Linked DNA regions of Homo sapiens: regions 1, 2, 3 and 5 are each linked to region 4. Evidence: promoter capture Hi-C in 16 types of primary human blood cells and fetal thymus (Javierre and others, 2016). All regions are on one chromosome and are shown on one strand. Each heading gives the region's core, a stretch centred on a gene start or on the middle of the fragment in contact. The rest is flanking DNA. Distances are from core to core; before and after follow the strand shown.

What was found. Contacts are between HindIII fragments. The CHiCAGO score rates a contact against its expected background, and 5 or more counts as called.
Region 1: a contact is called between the fragment with the promoter of HNRNPDL here and the fragment with the promoter of COX18 in region 4, in 4 of 17 cell types (total B cells, non-activated CD4 T cells, total CD4 T cells and 1 more). The highest score is 11.6, in total B cells.
Region 2: a contact is called between a fragment that was not itself captured here and the fragment with the promoter of COX18 in region 4, in 1 of 17 cell types (total CD8 T cells). The highest score is 7.4, in total CD8 T cells.
Region 3: a contact is called between a fragment that was not itself captured here and the fragment with the promoter of COX18 in region 4, in 2 of 17 cell types (total CD4 T cells and total B cells). The highest score is 6.0, in total CD4 T cells.
Region 5: a fragment that was not itself captured here is called in contact with the fragment with the promoter of COX18 in region 4 in 1 of 17 cell types (total B cells); the score reaches 6.1 in total B cells.

What each region holds. Positions count from the first base shown.
Region 1 is chr4:82,429,068-82,431,767 of GRCh38, reverse strand. It overlaps HNRNPDL (heterogeneous nuclear ribonucleoprotein D like), which reads left to right and starts at 1,306. Exons shown (of 8, transcript NM_031372.4): 1 at 1,306-2,520. The coding sequence starts at 2,078. ENOPH1 (enolase-phosphatase 1) reads right to left here and starts at 1,178. Exons shown (of 6, transcript NM_021204.5): 1 at 855-1,178. The coding sequence starts at 938. RefSeq lists enhancers at 588-687, 1,051-1,846, 1,998-2,087, 2,408-2,467, 1,847-2,642 and silencers at 928-1,247, 1,368-1,767, 2,138-2,377, 2,688-2,700. The HindIII fragment of the contact is 3,206 bases long and covers 446-2,700 here.
Region 2 is chr4:67,692,208-67,695,056 of GRCh38, reverse strand. The region is part of intron 2 of UBA6 (ubiquitin like modifier activating enzyme 6); the gene reads left to right. Among named protein-coding and RNA genes, the nearest start is that of UBA6, 7.5 kb to the left of the region's middle. The HindIII fragment of the contact is 339 bases long and covers 1,277-1,615 here.
Region 3 is chr4:67,541,979-67,544,783 of GRCh38, reverse strand. CENPC (centromere protein C) reads left to right here. Exons shown (of 19, transcript NM_001812.4): 2 at 589-635. Among named protein-coding and RNA genes, the nearest start is that of CENPC, 2.1 kb to the left of the region's middle. The HindIII fragment of the contact is 193 bases long and covers 1,201-1,393 here.
Region 4 is chr4:73,068,463-73,071,162 of GRCh38, reverse strand. COX18 (cytochrome c oxidase assembly factor COX18) reads left to right here and starts at 1,447. Exons shown (of 6, transcript NM_001297732.2): 1 at 1,447-1,846. The coding sequence starts at 1,514. LOC112268467 (a long non-coding RNA gene) reads right to left here and starts at 1,217. Exons shown (of 2, transcript XR_002959797.2): 1 at 1,134-1,217. RefSeq lists enhancers at 1,096-1,612, 1,159-1,678, 1,613-2,128. The HindIII fragment of the contact is 3,732 bases long and covers 705-2,700 here.
Region 5 is chr4:67,577,025-67,579,724 of GRCh38, reverse strand. It overlaps STAP1 (signal transducing adaptor family member 1), which reads right to left. Exons shown (of 9, transcript NM_012108.4): 4 at 2,466-2,522. Among named protein-coding and RNA genes, the nearest start is that of STAP1, 20 kb to the right of the region's middle. The HindIII fragment of the contact is 7,040 bases long and covers 1-2,700 here.

The DNA.
Region 1 (2,700 bases), core at 57-2,556, 9.4 Mb before region 4:
GAAGTACTTGTATCTGCAATGAATTCTTAAACCTCAGGGAGCCAAATAAAAAGACAAGGCCCGAGGAATTCTTTCAAAAATTAAAGTAACATTTCATATTTGCTTATTCTAACAGACAAAGAATAAAGAAGGAATCCGCTAAGTTGCAAGCTGAGGTGCAGACAAGTGCTGGTTCACAGTGACATCCTAGAAGGAATGCTCTGGATAAGAGCTTCAAGCTTCTGTGGTTTTCTGAGGAAAGTGAACGGAATCTAGACGTGTCCTATAGCTCAAAAAATCAGCGCTATGGACCACAGCGCCTAACAGAGTAAAATAATACACTGTGCAGTTTGGCCACTAACAGCAAGAGTGGGAAGGGGCGAAGAGGAACCTTGATTGCCCGACACCAGGGCCACCTGAAAAGTCATCTTGACACTTCAGTCTTTCCATTTTGAGATCGGAAGCTTTAAGGACCATTAAATCGCTGCCGCTGCCACACCAGGCCCGACGGAGCAGAAAGGCTGCGCTCACCTGCGGAAGCGACCGGGTGCACACCTGCCGGGTGGCGAGGCCCGCACCGTCACACCCCGCCCCGGCTTACCTGCCCTTCGGTGATTTTTAGCGTCAACTTCCATCCCTTCCCACCCATCTGGATCCAACCAAGCGCAAGGGCGGGGGAGGGAGAAGCTAGTGTCGCGAGGAAAAGCATCCCCGCAACCCACCGCAGGCTTTCTCTCCTTCCTCCCCATTCCACACAAGAGGCAGCCACACCGCCTCTCCTAACCCTCGTCTCCAATGCAAGGCCTGAAATACTTAGAAAAAATAATAACTGTTTTTAAGGAAAAGTAACATCCCCGCTCCCTTCCGCCCCTCACCTTCACGAAAGCAATCGGGGTTGTGGTACCTTCGATATCTAACAGGATCACGGTGACTTCGGCGGGGACCGAAAGCACGACCATTTCCCTACCGGATGCTACGGGACTCGGCCTGCTGTTGGGGAGGGCGGAGGGCGGCGCCGGCTGCGGCTGCGGCCCCCGGTACCGTCTTGGGCTTCCGGCGGCCCCGCGCGATCTCGGAGCCAGCGACCAAGTGCAGCCCGCCGCGCGTGGGGAGAGGACACTTCTGCACACCTGGAACTGGAAAAGGCGGCCGCCCAGGAGCCCTGAACTCGTGAGCAGGACGGGGCAGGAGCCCGAGACCACGTGGGCAGGAAAAGGGGCGGCCCTTGACGGGTTCGGCGGGGCGGGGAGGGTGAAGGCGCCAGCGCCGATTGGCCGCCGTCAGGCCTCGAACTGGATCCGTCAAAATGGGCCTCGCGTGGGCGGGAACAAAGAAGCGAACGCGGGAGCAGGGTGCGCGAGAGCGCGCCCTCCGCAGACAGGTTGAGCGAGCGGGAGAGGCCCGGGGCACGTGCAGAAAGGAGCCCCGCGAGTGGCGCGCCGGGGATGTGAGTGCCCCTTGCCCTCTACTGAATCCAGCCCCCTCCCCGCCCACCGCCTCCGCCTTTGCATAGATACAGTCATCTGGCCAGCCCCCGCCCCTCCTCCCGGCGTCAGCCCGCCAGAGGCCGCGCGGGGCCCGGGCTTCGGCCGATCAGCCCGGGAGGCCCCGCCGCGCCCCCTTGGCCCGCGCGCCCGTGGTCACAGTGGAAGAGGCGCCCGCGCTGCGCTGCCCGGAGGAGCCGTCGCGCGCCCGCTTCCTGTTCGGCTGGTTCCTGCCAGCTCGAGGACAAAACACGCGTGCGCGCGGCGGGCGAGCGCGCTCGCCGCCTCAGTCGCCAGCGCCGGGCGCAGTCCGCCTTTTTCCGGAGCAGACTGGCCGCGGTGCTAGTCGGTAGCAGCGGCCGCCGCAGCGGCTCCGCACTGGCGAACCGAGGGCAGAAAAAGGCGGGGTTGACGGCTTTTTGGTAGGAGTGGGCTGGACCGGACGCCAGAGACAAAGGCTCCCAAGGCAAGAGGGACTGTGGCCCTGCGTCGGCTCTGCTCGGGACTGCTGACCCCAGGAATTTACGCCCCTTCGTTTTTCTCTTCTGATTCTTCTCTTCTCCCAAGCCCGCGTCCCCTCACGCGTGGCCTCTCTCCTTGCCGGGAGGGCCGCGATGGAGGTCCCGCCCAGGCTTTCCCATGTGCCGCCGCCATTGTTCCCCTCCGCTCCCGCTACTTTAGCCTCCCGCAGCCTCTCCCATTGGCGGCCGCGGCCGCCGCGGCAGCTAGCCCCGCTCCTCCCTTCGCTCGCTCCCAGCTCCGCCCGGCAGGGGGCGCGCCGGGCCCAGCGCCACGTCACCGCCCAGCAGCCCTCCCGATTGGCGGGCGGGGCGGCTATAAAGGGAGGGCGCAGGCGGCGCCCGGATCTCTTCCGCCGCCATTTTAAATCCAGCTCCATACAACGCTCCGCCGCCGCTGCTGCCGCGACCCGGACTGCGCGCCAGCACCCCCCTGCCGACAGCTCCGTCACTATGGAGGATATGAACGAGTACAGCAATATAGAGGAATTCGCAGAGGGATCCAAGATCAACGCGAGCAAGAATCAGCAGGATGACGGGTACCGCACGCTTCTTCCCCCGCTCCCCCTCCCCCAGCGCGCCGCACGCGCCCTTCGTTCCTCGTGAGCCGCGCGCTGCCCCCATTCTTTCTCAGAGTCGATTCCCCGCGTGCCTTCTGGGCCCCACTAGATTGGAGGGAAGAGGAAAGTAAGAGATCGAGGGGGTGACTGGAGAGACCC
Region 2 (2,849 bases), core at 197-2,696, 5.4 Mb after region 4:
TCAGTAGGCCAGTGACTAAACTTTCCATTTACAATGCTACGTAAGTAGGCTGCAGTTTGCTTTACTGAGAGTTATAGAATATAGCAGTTTAGCTGTTATTATTAGAGGTAAGCCATTTTCTTTTGTTTGACGGAGAGTATCTTTTGGTGTAGCTGTTAGCACTTGGTATGCGTGTCTTATTGCAAACATCTAGTTGTTTACCAATGTGCATATTTGAGTTTTAATATCTTCCTTAAGAATTTGTCATAGTGAGGGCAGGAAGCCAGAAATTTATGTGGGTACTAAAAGAGTGAATTATTAGGGAATACTAAAAGAGTTACTGACTACATATAGGTTTTCTTAGTAGAAATACAAAGATGTGGCCAGGCACAGTGGCTCATGCCTGTAATCCCAGCACTTTGGGAGGCCGAGGCGGGTGGATCACGAGGTCAGGAGATCGAGACCATCCTGGCTAACACAGTGAAACCCCGTCTCTACTAAAAATACAAAAAATTAGCCGGGTGTGGTGGCGGTGGCGGGCGCCTGTAATCCCAGCTAGTCGGGAGGCTGAGGCAGGAGAATGGCATGAACCGGGGAGGCAGAGCTTGCAGTGAGCTGAGATGGCACCACTGTGTTCCAGCCTGGGCTACAGAGCAAAACTCCATGTCAAGAAAAAAAAAAAAAGAAATACAAAGACCAAAATGCCAAAATGTGAGATTTTCACACAATAACCAGCTCTTATTTTCTTAGATTTTAAAAATTAACTTAAATGTTTGAGGGTTTTTTTTTTTATAGTGACTGAATCTGAAGATTTGGTAGTTTTGTATTTTTTCTTTTTTTTTTTTTTTTTTTTTTTTTTTTTGAGATGGAGTCTTGCTCTGTCATCCAGGCTGGAGTGCAGTGGCGCGATCTCGGCTCATGGCAACCTCCGCCTCTTGGGTTCAAGCAATTCTCCTGCCTCAGCCTCCTGAGTAGCTGGGACTACAGGCATGCACCACCACACCCAGCTAATTTTTGTATTTTTTTTAGTAGAGGCGGGGTTTCACCATGTTGGCCAGGATGATCTCAGTCTCTTGACCTCATGATCTGCCCACCTTGGCTTCCCAAAGTGCTGGGATTACAGGCGCGAGCCACCGTGCCCAGCTGTATTTTCTCTTTTTAAAAATCTGTATCTGTTGCTTATGGGGACTAGTATAAGACCTAGGACTTTGGACAATGATTTATTTTAGGGACAAGGCATGAAATGAGGATCCTTAGCCTCTTAATATCTCAGGGAGATAGATTTCATCAGTAAGCTTGATGAAGGTAGGGTAAGATAAAGATAAATTCCAGAAGTTCTCTTTTCTCTCCGTTCTCTTTCACACAGCCACAGTTCCGACCATTTTGTCTCATAGTACAAGTCCAAATACTATAGCTTACCGAGTTATTTTGAACATAACTCCAACTTACCTTCTAAAAAGTTATTATTGTAGTAAAAACACATAACATGAACTCTACCCTACTAACAAGTTTTTAAGTGTGTAGTATAGTATAGTTGACACTTGAACAATGAAGGAGTTAGGAGTGCCAACTCCCCTACCACCCTACCTCTTGTGCAGTCGAAAATCCACATATGACTTTTGACTCTCCCAAAGCTTAAATGCTAATAGCCTTACTATTGACTGGAAATTTTACTGATAATGTAAATAATCAATTAACACACATTTTTAATATTATATGTATTATATACTGTATATATATATATACACAGTATTCTTAGAATAAAGTAAGCTAGAGAAAATAAAATGTTAAGAAAATCATGTAAGAAAGAGAAAATATATTTATTGTTCATTAGATGGAACTGGATTATCATAAAGGTCTTCATCTTTGTTGTCTTCATGTTGAGTAGGCTGAGGAGGAGGAAGGGGAGGAGTTGGTTTTGTTGTCTTAGGGGTGGCAGAATCAAAAGAGGTGGAGGCAGAAGGGTAGGGAAAGAGAGGCAGGCACACACAGTGTAACTATGGAAATATGTAACTACTATGTGACTTTTTTTGCTTTCTCATTTCTGGAAAAATGTTTCTATACAATACTGATCCTCCTGTCATTTTCTTTAGTTTCTTTTTGGTGCCCCTGTTGTAGAAGGGTCCATGTCATTAAAGAAATCAATGCAATCTTGAATCGTCGGAACCCTTCTGCCAGATTGTCTGATGTCAGTAACAACGATAGCATCTTCAATGGTATAATCTTCCAGACTTTAATGATGTTCTCTTTCTTGGGGTTCTCTTCCATAGCATTGACAATCCTTTCTATAGAGTACCTTGTGTAATGAGCCTTAAAGGTCCTTTATGATGCCCTGATCTAGAAGCTGAATTTGAGATGTTGTGTTTTGAAGCAAGTAAACCACTTCAGCACCTTCATTGTTGAACTTTGGGGTTCTGGGTGGCCAGGTGTATTGTCCAATAGCAAAAGAACTTTAAAAGTTCTTGCTGGCAAGGTACTTCCTGACCTCAGAATCAAAGCATCAATGGAACCAATCCAGAAAAAGGGTTCTTGTCCAGGCCTGCTTGTTATGTAGCCGGAGGACTGGCCGCTGGTGTTTATCTTTTCCCTCCAATGCTCAGGGGTTAGCAGCTTTATATGTAAGGGCAGTCCTGATCATAAACCTGAAAGCATTTGCAGAAAACAGTAGAGTTAACTATCCATTTCTGCCTTAAATCCTGGTGCTTGCTTCTCTTCCTTACTAATAAATGTCCTTTGTGGCAATTTTTTTCAAAATAGAGCACTTTCTTCTACATTAAAAACCTATTCAGGTAGATATCCTTTCTCTTCAGTGATTTTCCTTATGGCGTCTAGAAACTCATTGCTGCCTCTTGATCGGCAGAAGCTGCTTC
Region 3 (2,805 bases), core at 48-2,547, 5.5 Mb after region 4:
TTATGGAGCATATGTTATTGACAAACTCTTCTGAAAGACAGCTATCAGTTAAAAGGTACAAGCTGTGAATGACTAATGGGGGCGACAACTCATTTTGTTTACATATTTCTGGACTTCTTTGGTGTTCACTATTCTATATTTCATACTTTGGTTATGGTTACTATATAAAAATCCGTATCATTTCTTTTCTAATTTATCTCCCCTTCTAAGAAAATCTTCAGCTTCGATGATCTCCCATTATGTGACGTTATACATATAAACATAAAGAGTTGTATGAAAGAATAATATAATCTATACTTTTTACTATGAGCACATATATTGTTTACATTATATATAATCAGAAGAAAGCAATAAAGCCATTCTCACTGTGGGGAGAGAAGCGGAATAAAGCTTACCAGATGCCTGCAGTTCAGTTTTTAAATGCCTGTCATAACCTATGTTATGTCATAACATAACCTCAAAATTGTTTTGAGCCCTTAGGAGATGTTTGGTGTATAGCATGCCCATACTGGATGAAGTTACTTTGAAAATAAATTTTACTCGACTCTATCTTAAAGAAACCAAATTGATGATTTACTTTTCTTTCAGGATCATCTCAAAAATGGCTACAGAAGAAGATTTTGTCGACCTTCCAGGTGATTTACGTACTTAAGCTTTTAAGATTATTTTTATTCTCATCGTTAATAGATTTTTAAATGAAGAAAGGAAAAACTATCACCTCTGACTAATATAATGATTTCTGTGCCCACTGATTAAGGGTAGTCATCTTATACTAACGGGAATGTTAATGCAAGCAGTGCAATGACTTTGTGGCTGTGAAAAAAGAAATTCACCTGATAAAATAGTGGAACCAGGAAGAGGGAGTCTCAGTTCTGACTAAGTGACTGCCATGGGAAAAGCATTTTGTAGAATGAATCAAATGGTAAAATTAGAAAGATGTAGCTTATTCAGTGGGGCAAAAAGAAAAATAGTACATGCTGTCGTGCATTTGTTGAGTGCTTGTTTGGGTTGTTTTGGTTCTTCTTTTAGTTGTAAAACCTGTAAAAAGTAAATTTTCTAGTTAAATATTTACTAGTAATAGGATGAAAAGCATGTTTTTAAAAGTGAAGATGTTATTATGAATAACGTCATGTTTATTGAGCTGTGATTTTAGTAGGTCCAATGGGGCACAGAAGTATGTTCTTTTGTTTACAAGAAGCTTAGATTTCTGTTGGGAAAATGTATATGTACATTTGTGAAACAATTTAATGGACAAAAATTATTACTTGCAATACTGAAGTAATGACTTGTGTATCATAGAGAGTAGGCCTATATATAATTAGGCATTAACTTGCAGTATAGACAGCCATGTGAGAAATTAGGGATTTGTGTGTTGTTGATATTAAGAAAAGCTTTAAAGTTGTAGTGTAACTTTGGTGGACCTTGAACAGGTATTTAAAGACTAAGATAAAGTATATTCCAGACATAGAAAGTAACTTAACGAAGGAACCAAAGTAGGAATACATATATTTGTCAGTAGCAGAGAGACCTGATTTAAGAAGGTTGAATATGTTGGGTAGAAGTGGAAAACAAGACCATATGAGTTGGATTGAGCCATAAAATGGATATGTTAGGCTTTAGGCATCTATTATAGGCTTGAATAAGCTCTCCTAAATCTTCTGTGGAATAAGGGCTATCTGATATAAACACACACACACATTTAAAAAAGCAAAGATGTTTGATGTTTACAAAGTAGCTTAAGGAGGGTGTTGTAGTAATCTACACATGGTGGAGGTGCTTTTATGCTAAGGTAATAATGACAAAGGGGAAGAAAAGACGAATTTGATAAATTTTGAAAAAGCTGTTGCCTAATGTGACCTGCGTTCTAATAGTGACTCTGCATTATCACCTTGGCAAATCTGATCTTTTTGGATCTCATCCTTGAAACAGGTAATAGCAGGAGTGTATTTATAGCTGTGCAATATGTGCACCTGTAGGTGGTATTTTGGGGTGATGTCAAGGCCAGAATTTATAATAGTCACCTATATATATTCTGGTAGAAAACCGGCCACTAATACTACTTAGGTTTACAAACTGAGGTAGGCCATTTGACCATTTTGGGTTTCAGTTTGCCTATCTGCAAAATGAGGGCATAGGATTCAGCTAGGGGTTTTTAACTAGATTTGCACATCAGAATTACCTCCATCACCCTAGGAAATCTAATTAAATTGGTTTGTGGGAAGTGACCAATTAAGTGTATTTCTGCAAAGCTCCAAAAGTAACTTTACACATCTATTTGGATGATGATTATTGGACTGGATGATTTCTGAGATCTTTCAGTTATAAAACTTTATGATGGATGACCTGATAATGCACTGTGGCTCACAGTTTTTAATTACTGCATATATAGTACTTTTCCAGCTCTCAATAATAGGAATGTTGTAGATCAGGGATCAGTAAACTCTGGCTGATAGGCCAGCCAAATGTTTTGTCACAGGTTTTATTTCAATTTTATTGGAACACAGCCATGCCTCTTTGTTTACATACTGTCTGTGGTTGCTTTTGGGCTAGAATGGGAGAGTCGACTGGTTGTGACAGAGACTATGGTTTACAAGCCTAAAATATTTACCATCTGGCCCTTTAAGCAAAAGTTTGTCCACTCTGTTAGAGATGCATGTCAATTTTATACTGATTGAAATCCAGATGTTCTTCAACAGGTAAATGGTTAAACACTGTGGTACACACATAGCATGGAACATTACTTGACTCTAAAAAGCAATGAAATATTGGTACATTCAACTTGGATTTATTTCCATAGAATTGTGT
Region 4 (2,700 bases), core at 198-2,697:
TGCAAGCCACCACATCTGGATGATTTTTGTATTTGTTGTAGAGATGAGGTCTTGCCATGTTGCCAAGGCTGATCTCTAACTTCTGCCCTTAAGGTATCCTCCCATCTTGGCCTCCCAAAGTGCTGGGATTACAGGCGTGATCCACTGTGTCTAGCAAAAATAACTTTAAAATTCTGTTCAGATTATGAACAGCTGAACAGTAGTCAGTAGCAACTGATGGCTTTTTTGTTAGCTTAATAAATGGATAAAGAAATAGATTGGTAGGTTTTTCTTTTAGAAAAAGTTTATATATAGTGTGTGTTGTGCTGTGTGTTTAAACACATTTAAAAATTCATGTATAGATTTATCAGTCAGTTTGGAAAGCAGATGAATTCCAGAATCCTGAGAAAGTTATCGTAGGGTACCCTTGGTTAGGTGCACAGTGAAGGGCAAACAATAGCTGGCGTTTGACATTACCCAACATTGTTGGAGGCTTCTTTTCCTAAGTAAGTAAATAAATAAATAAATAAAAATCAAGGTTTACTCCTCACAACATATTTTAGTCTGTAGTCTAGGGGTGACCCTTCGGTGAGGAAACTCCTCCACAACATTCCATTTTGTTGTTTCCAGGAACACAAAAGTTAAAACTATATAGTCCATGTAGATTCAACGTATTCCTTTAAACCAGAAGACAGCCAGTGCTGCTGTTCAGGCTCTTTAAAGCTTATATAGGATACAAGTAAACTCAAGGAATTCACCGTACTGCCAGTGATAGTTTCCCTTAAATAAAGAGATGATACTTTTACTATAAGATTTTTGCTGCTATTTATCATGGAAGACAAAACACCGAAGAAATTCAGTTTGCAGTTGGTGGTCCAAATACTAACTGGAACAGATGGGCCAATTAAATCTACAAGAGACTGAACTATCCCTCGTGCTTAACACTCAGAGTCAGCAAGAAACATGCGTCTCTCTACAAGCAGGTACTTTAGCAACGTGTGACTCTTGAGTATGATAATCTATCGTAATCGCTAACGGAAGCAATCAGGTGCACGTAAAGAGGTTGGGGATCAGCTTCTGGTCACAAAAAACCGAGCAAGGATAATTCCACTACAAATGACTATTAGCTTTAGTGAAAAAGAATGGTAAGTTACACGGTGTAGATGAACTTTACAAGGCGAGAGCTCCCTAAAGAACACCCAGCCTGGCGGAGGGCAGCAGGCTCCACCCATGTCTCTGCAGTTTTGGTCCGGCCTCGGACTAACTACACCCTAGCAGCGGGAAACTTTCGCGTGTGCGCAGTAGGCCTGTCCAGTGCCGCGTGGGAAAGGCGGGACTTTCCTATCTCTTGCGTCACATCCACTGCGACGCAAGACGTCACCGGCTTGACTGGGAAGGTCAATCGCGGCTGCAGGCAGGCGCGCATGCGCTTTATGCCCGCTGTTGCTGGCGCGTGCGCGTATCAGCCTTGGCTGGCCGGTGTATGTCCGCTGGATTGTGAGGCCCGGGATCTGGGCTCCGCCGTGGTGCAGAAATGCTGTGCCGGCTCGGCGGTCGGTGGCTGCGGCCGCTCCCTGCCCTGCAGCTTTGGGCTAGGGACCTGCCGCTTGCGCCGGTTCCTACGAGCGGCGCCAAGCGCCCCACTCTCCCAGTGTGGGCAGTGGCACCAGTCTCTGCAGTACATGCGAACGGCTGGTACGAGGCCCTGGCCGCGTCTTCGCCGGTGCGGGTTGCGGAGGAAGTACTGCTCGGCGTGCACGCCGCCACGGGCCTGCCCTGGTGGGGCAGCATTCTGCTCTCCACCGTGGCCTTACGGGGTGCTGTCACGCTGCCTTTGGCAGCCTACCAGCACTACATCCTGGCCAAGGTGAGGGGCGCCGAGCCGTGCGCGTACCCTGCGCTGCAACCCCTGCGGCGGAGGAAGGCCGACATTCACTCAGGGTTTTCGATCGCACGATGTTGCCTTCTGCAGTGCTTAGTGTTTAATCATCGTGACCATTTCATTGTGACCATTTTAGCGTTAAAAAAAATTGAACTAGCATTAGGTGTGTTAAATAAGATACTTTGTGACACGTGTACCTGTCATTTCTTTTGTCTTACTGGATTTGTGCTCCAAGCACAAGTGGTTACTATACTTGCTCTCGGGGAACGGAGACAAAGAAATCAGTCGCAGAAGAAATTGTGTTGGCGAAACCTACAAAATTTATGTCTTAAAAGTTTTAATAGCCAGTATGTCTGCAGTGTCTTTCGTCCCAAAGTATTCCAGCTGGTCTTTCTTATTAGGAAGAAACTACTAGACTAACAGTTTGCGAACTTGTTTCCTCTCCAGACCCGACTAAGACTGTGTCTGGTTGGTCGCAGTTACTTGACCTTTTAATGCTGAATCCTTTTTTCTGAGGAATCAGGCTAGCAGTACCTTCCTTGCCTACTTCACAGCGTTATCAGAGCAAGTCAGATAATACGGGTTAAAGTGCTTGATTATTCAAATGGGATATTTCAAAAATAGTGGCTTTCTTGTTTTCAGGTTGTGAGCATGGGGAAAAAAAACCGGAAACAAAACAGGAACGGAATCAGCAGCAACATTAAGGCAGTGAGCCATTTTACAGGAAGAATGAGCACAGGGCAGGAATAAATGCTATTTTTACTTTTGATTTGTGGCTATCACAGTGTATTAAAGGTTCTTAACAAACTGCTGTTTTCTCCGCTTACGTTACTAGGAAA
Region 5 (2,700 bases), core at 107-2,606, 5.5 Mb after region 4:
TTCTCATGTTAGTGGGTGAATTCTTGTGAGATCTAGTCATTTAAAAGTGTGTGGTCCCTCTTCCCCACTCTTTCTCTTTCCTACTCTCACCATGTGATATGTCTGTTCCCCCTTCACCTTCTGCCATGAGTAAAAGCTCCTTGAGGCCCTTCCCAGAAGCTGAGCAGATGCTGGCACCATGCTTCCTGTACAGCCTGCAGAACCAGGAGCCAATTAAACCTCTTTTCTTTACAAATTACCCAGTCTTAGGTATTTCTTTATAGCAATGCAAGAATGGCCTAATACAAATAGAAAAAAAAATCAAGCACAGAAAGATTAAATAGCTAGTCCAGAGTCAAATAGCTAGTAAGTTATGGAACCAGGACCCAAACTGGGGTTTATTTGATTCAAAAGCAATGTCTCAGCTCTTTCAACTACATACAGTCTGAGCTTCTCTCACTTCTCTACTAAAGTCATCCTAATAACAACATACTGTAAATGTTCATATACCATGATCTGGAATCATAACACAAAACAACATTTACAGAATACACAATTTGAGGCAACTTGTCTTCTCTTAAAAATTCACATGGGCTGGGCGTGGTGGCTCACACCTGTAATCCCAGCACTTTGGGAGGCCGAGGTGGGAGGATCACTTGAGGTGGGAGGATCACTTGAGGTCAGGAGTTTGAGACCAGCATGGCCAACATGGTGAAACCCCACCTCTACTAAAAATATTTTTTAAAAAACTTAGCCGGGCATGATGGTACGTGCCTTTAATCCCAGCTACTTGGGAGGCTAAGGCAGGAGAATTGCTTGAACGCAGGAGGTGGAGGTTGCAGTGAGCCAAGATTGCACCACTGCACTCCAGCCTGGGTGATAGAGTGAGACTCTGTCTCAAAAAAAAAAAAAAAATTCACATAAATTTGATTTTATATTCTGTTACTTATTTATGTGTGTATTTTAATATAAAAATAATGCTTTTTATTTTTACTCCAGGAAAGAAACTAAAAACAAAATGTTTGGCCAAAACTTTATACATACTTAGTGTACCGGGGGGATGCAAAAAGTTTTTGCCAGAGTTTTTAGTGTACTCCTTGATACTTAGTCACATACCTTTGGGATAGTTATACCCGGTATTGGAAGCACCATACCACTCAGAGATATTTTCCACAACAGAGGGAAAGAGTGCAATTCCCCAGGATTCCTTCCTCTCCCTCTCAGAAGTCAACATGTTCTTCACATCTTTAACTGGTCCGCTTTTCTAGCCTCATATAACTTCCCTACACAATAGTTGAACCTCTAACTTTTACCTGTTACTGGCTGAAATAAAGAACCTGCATCCATCAACTTGGTAAAGTGCAGTGCTTATTTCAGATGACTGCAATGGCTTACTTAGAAACTAGCTTTGGATAGAATCTGTGTTTAACTGACTCTAATAAACACAGTTTTTATATCCTTTTAAATTACTAGAGAACATGGTGCTCCTTGGGAGGCTGGTTATCAAAGAACGTCATGTTTCCAAGGCAATTGCTACAGTGGCTTTATCTAAAATAATGGACATTATCTTACTGCAAGAGTTAACTCTAAGCAGTAGATCTTACTATTTGCCTCTGATAAAACACCACAGAGTTGAACAGATAAGCATCCTGTTGTTTTAAGACTCACTGAAGAAATGTTTAAAGGTGAGTTTTCATTTTTATGGTCTCTCCCTGTTACATTGTCTATGTTATTTATAAAATTCATCTTGGCTAGTATTCTATAAATATGTATTAAATAAATAAAAAAGAAATCAGAGGCCGGGCACAGTGGCTCACACCTGTAATCCCAGCACTTTCGGAGGCCGAGGCCGGCAGATCACTTGAGGCCAGGAGTTCCAAACCAGCCTGGCCAACATGATGAAACCTCATCTCTACTAAAAATACAGAAATTAGCTGGGCATGATGGTGCATGCCTGTAATCCCAGCTACTTGAGAGGCTGAAGCAGGAGAATCACTTGAACTCTGGAGGTGGAGGTTGCAGTGAGCCAAATTATGCCACTGCACTCCAGCCTGGGTGACATAGTGAGACCTCATCTCAAAAAAAAAAAAAAAAGAAAGAAAGAAAGAAAAGAAAAGAAATTGGAATGTATTTTCAAACATGCTGTATTAGCTACAAATATCAGAATATACAAAGGACCACTGAGTCAAACAGATAAGACCAAAAAGTAGATCTCCTTTACCACCCGTTACTCCCTAGCGAATTGCCTTGTTTATTTTCTTCATAACAATTGTCACAATGTGAAATGATCATCTGTTTACTTGTTTACTTTCTCCCTCTCCACCACCTGATGAAAATATAATGTTCATAAGTAAGTGCAAGAGTTTAGGTCTATCTTTTTCAATTGCTATATCTTCAGCCACTTTCACTCTGCATGGATCATAGGGTGTTCAGCAGATATTTGTTGAAAAAAAAAAAGAATCAATCAAAAGCAGTGAGCTTCCTACCTCTGTTACTGTAAGAATGAAGCCTCTCCATTCTTCCCCACTTTCTGTGTTCTCTGTCTAAAGTTGAAGACAAAAACAGATAAAGCCAAAGAAGGAAATACATGAGTGATTGAGCATAAAATAAATAATTATGACTGAGCCTAAAAAATAATTCATTTTCTTTTTTTGGCTTAGAACTACTAATGTGTATTTTTTATGAAATATTTCAATACTATTTTCTTTTGTCAGAAGACAT